2 separate regions of the Homo sapiens genome follow, and region 1 is linked to region 2. Evidence: promoter capture Hi-C in human tissues and cell types (Jung and others, 2019). All regions are on one chromosome and are shown on one strand. Each heading gives the region's core, a stretch centred on a gene start or on the middle of the fragment in contact. The rest is flanking DNA. Distances are from core to core; before and after follow the strand shown.

Region 1 (2,762 bases), core at 22-2,521, 830 kb before region 2:
CGCAAACACACACACACACACACACACACACACACACACACACGGACGCAAACAAATACCATCCCTCTCTCTTCTCTCTCTGTATACGTACGCATATGTTTAATTCTGCAAGTTGCTTTGTTTAAAACTCAATACCTTTTGGAGGTATTTATATATCAGCATATTCAGATACAATTTACTTTTTTTAAAAAGGGTAATATGCCATTGTATTAATATTCCATACTTTAAGTTCCTCTATCGATGGACAATTAGAATGCTTTTTTTTTTCTTGCCACACACACACAAAAATTGCTGCCAGAAATCTTTGTAGTAAATCTTTGGATATTGGTGCAAAAATAATTGTTGCATACTTTCTTAGTGGTGAAATTGCTGAATCAATCCGCTCAAGCCTCTCATATTGTCAAATTACTCCTCCTAAAAGGTTATACTAATGACATTCTCACATCATTTCCTTACATCTTGGTACACATTTGGTATTAAGCGACTTCACAAGTTTGCCAGTCTAAACACATGGAAAAAAATGGCGTCATGTTGTTTTTATTTGGGTCTCTTTATGAGTAGGGCAGCAAGACCTGATTGTTAAACGTTCAAGTTTTGAAGTTAAACTCCCTGGGTCTGGATCCTACTTCTTCCTTGTAAAATGTGTGATCTCGGGCATGCTGGGTCTACTTCCTCGTCTCAAAAAAAGAGGATAAAGAGAGTACATATCTTTAGGCTTAAACAAGATACGCAGGCATACAGGAAGCCCTTCTTATGCGTTCGCTACTAGCGGTACTGATCCTAATTTTTTTGAAGCCGTGCCGGCTCCGGTACTTTATTTTTGGTGTGCTCCTCCAACCAACCAAGTTTCGCAGAATTCTGTTGTTGCCTGTAATTAGAAATGAGACGAAAATTGGCTCCGCTTGTTCAAAATTCTCCTCCCTCCGCCCCAACTCTGCCTTAGAATCACTGGTTTAAATGTCAATGTAAAGGAATGAGTTGCAATTTTTAAGCAACATGTAAAGTGCACACCTGGTCTGAGTACCTCCCGGCGGCCAGGACCCGCCGTTTTCGGTATAGGGAACACCAGATAACAATATATAACGCTACCTAACAAACGTTTCTCCACCCACAGCGCCATTAGCGGTTAGGTTTGCAGTGCCGAAGAGCTGCAAGAAAACGGGGCTTGAAACAGGAATACAATTGCAGATCCACCCACTACACGCAAAGGGCCCGGGACGCGCCTCCACAGCCCCGCCCCAACCGGAAGTGACGCACCGCGCCGACTATTTCTTCCGCCGTCCGCCGGTGGCGAGGCCCAGGCTGTCGCCGGGTGTGCAGCGGCGTCGCGGCCAGTAGAGGGATTCTGGGTAACGGCCCGGACCCCCGGCTGGGCTTCTGGCTCGGCGCAGCAGGTTCCATTCACGCCAAGTCTGTTGGCAGTGGCAGTTGTAGGGCCAAGGGCGGTTGTAGGACCCGGAGCAGCCGGACATGGAACAACCGTGGCCGCCTCCGGGACCCTGGAGCCTCCCTCGGGCCGAGGGTGAGGCTGAGGAAGAGAGTGACTTCGACGTGTTCCCCAGTTCTCCCCGCTGCCCGCAGCTGCCAGGCGGCGGCGCCCAGGTGAGAAGGGGCCTGCGTTCTGCGGAGGGATGGAGTGGTGCTGTCGCCAAACCCCTGGAATGCCGCGTCTCCCAGACCCTCTTCTACGCCTTTTTCTACGCCCACCTCACTGCCAGGGGCCGGGGACCTGGGACCTGACGCCTGATGCCATCCCACCCCTTTTATGGCATCTTCGGAGGGCAGACGGGGTGGCCATATATTACCAACCTCCACCTCCACGCACATGTTTTCTTTCGCCTTGGCTGATTCCTGTTCACTCTTGGAATACCTTCCTCCATCTCCCCTTCCTGACAGCACTCAGATTTGGGGCGGCTCATGCTGTAACATTGACCCTTTGTCCTCTTGTGAGAGGTTTTCCCCAAGCACTTTATTCTGTTAAAGGCTCTAGCATACTTGTGCACAGTTGCTAGGAACAGTGAATGATTGTAGTTCAGCATCACACTGAGTCCTGACAAAGATTTCACATGCGATTTTCACCGATGTTGACAACTGAGTAAATTCTTTAAATCTCGCTTTTGACGCTGGCGTACACCTCTCCCATTCGCGTGACCATCTTTGCCTTACTGTTTTGTTTTTTAGTTTTGCTTCACGTCATTCTCCAGTGAAAATATATACGCATATACTTGTGTTTTCCTTCAGACTTCTCTTAGGTTCCTGGTATTGTGTTTTCAATCCAGCATTCCTGCCTTCCTGCGACTGAAACGTATCCAAATGTGATATACTATTAAGGATTTTTCAGGGACCTATCTTAGGGGATACTTACATACTCGCATCACCTTGTCCTGTTTTTTTCTCCGAATCCGTGTGTGTTTTGGAAGTATATTTCAGAATCACAGACTAAACACTAATATATTCAATGGATCATAAGTGTCTGCCGCCTTCTTGCAAAATGGGGTTCCCAAGAGTGTAACAGATTTAATAGTAGTTTTCCTCTCAACTTATTTTGCTAGATGTTAATGAGAATGAGTTAAATTGCTTACCAGTAAGCGTGACATTATCAATCTTATGTCCAGCTAACAGGGTTAGTTGGCTTCACACAGAGAAAAATGCTGTTTCATAACCACTGTCTGTACTTTGGCCAGCTAAGTCACTGGGGAACTACAAGACATTTTTTAGGAGGACAGAATGAGAGTTGATGGGTCCATCATTAGTCACCCACT
Region 2 (2,700 bases), core at 195-2,694:
GCTTCGTAGTACTTCTTAAAGTACTTCTTGTTCAAGCGATGGGACGAAAAGAGGATGCAGGACAAGGAGGAGGAAAGGAGATCCTTGCTTTTGTAGAAGAAACAAGGAGGCAGGGAAGGCTTAGAGGACAGGCAAGGAGAGATGTTTTCTTAAAAACATCCTCTGTCTGAGTGTTCAGCCCCACATCTCTGCTGGTCCTACCCCTATAAGCACAAGGAAAAGGGCGGGAGGCAGCAGGAGAAGGATTGATCATTCAGGCCTATATTCAAGTTTGCCTTTTCTTGCCATGTGGTTTTAATCTCACCAATCACAAGCCTGAAGGTATAGTGGGGCCACTGAGGTCCGAGTTCAAATTCAGCCATGCAACTAAGGAAACATTGTTTGATCTTGGTCCTGTTTTCTCATGTGTAAAATGGGTCTAACTCTAAACCACACATTGCACTGAGAATGAAATGAGGCACTATGAAATGAAGTGAGGTTAGTTGAATAATGTTCCCCCCAAATTCATGTCTACTGAGGACCTCAGAATGTGACTATATTTGGAAGTAGGGTCTACGCAGATGTAGTCTAAATGAGGTCATACTGCATTAGGGTGGGCACTAATCAAACGGATGGTATCCTCATAAGAGGAGAGGAATGTAGAGATACACACAGAAAAGAATGTCATTTGAAGATGGAGGCAGAGATTGGAGTGATACAACTATAAGTCAGGGAATGCCAAGGACTTGAGGTCATGTGTTACAGAAGCCCTAGGAAATGAGTCAATTTCCTGGCACAGCACTAAGACATGCTGGTATTCTTCATTCCATCCCTTTCCCCTATTCCTAAATGTGCTCCAGGGACAATGGGGAAGCTGGAGCACATATAAGAATAGGGGAAAGAGAGGGAATAAAAGGGTATTAAAAACTCTCAAGGTATGTTAAAAAAAAGACTCTCAACAAACCAGGTATTGAAGGAACATACCTCAAAATAATAAGAGCCATCTATGATGAACCCACAGCCAACATCACACTGAATAGGCAAAAGCTGGAAGGATGCCCCTTGAAAACCGGCACAAGACAAGGCTGCCTTCTCTCACCACTCCTATTCACCATACTATTGGAAGTCCTGGCCAGAGCAATCAGGCAAGAGAAAGAAAGAAAAGGCATCCAAGAAGGAAGAGAGGAAGTCAAACTACCCATGTTTGCAGATGACATAATTTTATATCTAGAAAATCCCACAGTCTCAGCCCAAAAGCTCCTTAAGCTGATAAACTTCAGAAAGTTTCAGGATCCCACATGAACATACAAAAATCACTAGTATTCCTAAACACCAACCATAGCTAAGCCAAGAGCCAAATCAGGAATGCAATCCCATTCACAGACAAACTGCTAAAAGCAAAACCAAAACTTTCCAAATAAGCCAGGCTTTCGTCAGTTCCTCAGAACTAGTTCTGGTTTGACTCACTCTCATGTTACGGCAAACCTTAAGCTGAATGAACAACTTTTCTTCTCTTGAATATATCTTAACGCCAAATTTTGAGTGCTTTTTTGTTACCCATCCTCATATGTCCCAGCTAGAAAGAATCCTGGGTTGGAGCTACTGCATGTTGATTGTTTTGTTTTTCCTTTTGGCTGTTCATTTTGGTGGCTACTATAAGGAAATCTAACACAAACAGCAACTGTTTTTTGTTGTTTACTTTTGCATCTTTACTTGTGGAGCTGTGGCAAGTCCTCATGTGAGTAACGAGTGGGTTGAGATACTCTCATACTATTATGTTGTGGACCATGATGAGGCTGCCAGGGTGGGGGAAGGGTGGCCTACCTTCTCTCCACACCATTTGAGGCAAGAGACATTCTGCCTCAGAAATTGTGCTGAGGGGCACAAATAAGCTAATGTCCTCCTGCCCCAGATTTCTCTCACTTGTTCCTATGCATATTGTTCTTGTTGCTCAGTTTTATAAGGTGAGATATTTTCTGCACCAAATATGTGCACTGTAAAATAATATAACTATTCTTAAGATTGTCTCTCAGCTTAGAGTTTTCGGAGGCTTAATGGTGAAGAACTTAAAAATCTGTTTTCCTATGACTGACATCTGTTTGTGATTATCCATTTAGCAGACGGTGATCCCTCCAGGCTGGCCTTTGTTTACAAGCTATGCCTAAGAGGCAGCTGTTGGTGGAGGGGGAACAAAAACAAAAAACCCAAAACTATTATCTTAATAACTTATAGAGGTAATCATTATTGAACAAAAGCATGATTTGGGGACTATGGAAAGGCTTATTCTTTCCATATAAAATGATCAGCGAAAAGGTAGAAAAATTAAACAGAACTGAAATAATTGCTATTGATTGCTCACCGCCTGGATGCACTGAGTAGAAGAGCAAAGGCAATGGGTTCATGTGGAGGGGATGGAGGTGGAGAGGCTAAGCCTGAGTGAGATTACCAACTAATCAGGACTTTTAACCCAAAAATACTATGGCTCTGAGGGGCAGGGAATGAGAGACCTAAATTGACAAAATGCAGAGTAAAAATATTCAGTGTGAGCAGTAATGAGACAGTTGTATCAGGGTCAAATACGGAGTTGGCCTGGATGTCCTCCAAGCTCCTTTCCAAGCCTAAGATTCTGTGAGTGGATGAACAATCCTGGTCCTGCTGCTCTTGCCACTGGAACCTGATCTATTTGCCTTCATTATTTGAGGTCTCCCCATCATCAGGCTC

Evidence for each region. The method cuts DNA at HindIII sites, captures the fragments that hold promoters and counts their contacts. A contact is called where the count stands out against the background at its distance.
Region 1: the fragment with the promoter of CDC37L1 here is called in contact with the fragment with the promoter of PDCD1LG2 in region 2 in 1 of the 25 tissues and cell types used here (lymphoblastoid cells).

The regions. Positions count from the first base shown.
Region 1 is chr9:4,678,298-4,681,059 of GRCh38, forward strand. CDC37L1 (cell division cycle 37 like 1, HSP90 cochaperone) reads left to right here and starts at 1,272. Exons shown (of 7, transcript NM_017913.4): 1 at 1,272-1,602. The coding sequence starts at 1,471. It overlaps CDC37L1-DT (CDC37L1 divergent transcript), which reads right to left and starts at 1,183. Exons shown (of 2, transcript NR_121598.1): 1 at 1,090-1,183. RefSeq lists an enhancer at 1,406-1,495. The HindIII fragment of the contact is 7,477 bases long and covers 1-1,472 here.
Region 2 is chr9:5,509,087-5,511,786 of GRCh38, forward strand. It overlaps PDCD1LG2 (programmed cell death 1 ligand 2), which reads left to right and starts at 1,445. Exons shown (of 7, transcript NM_025239.4): 1 at 1,445-1,717. All of the region lies in intron 2 of INCR1 (interferon stimulated noncoding RNA 1), which reads right to left. RefSeq lists enhancers at 1-1,192, 1,134-1,213, 1,274-1,333, 1,494-1,543. The HindIII fragment of the contact is 28,529 bases long and covers 1-2,700 here.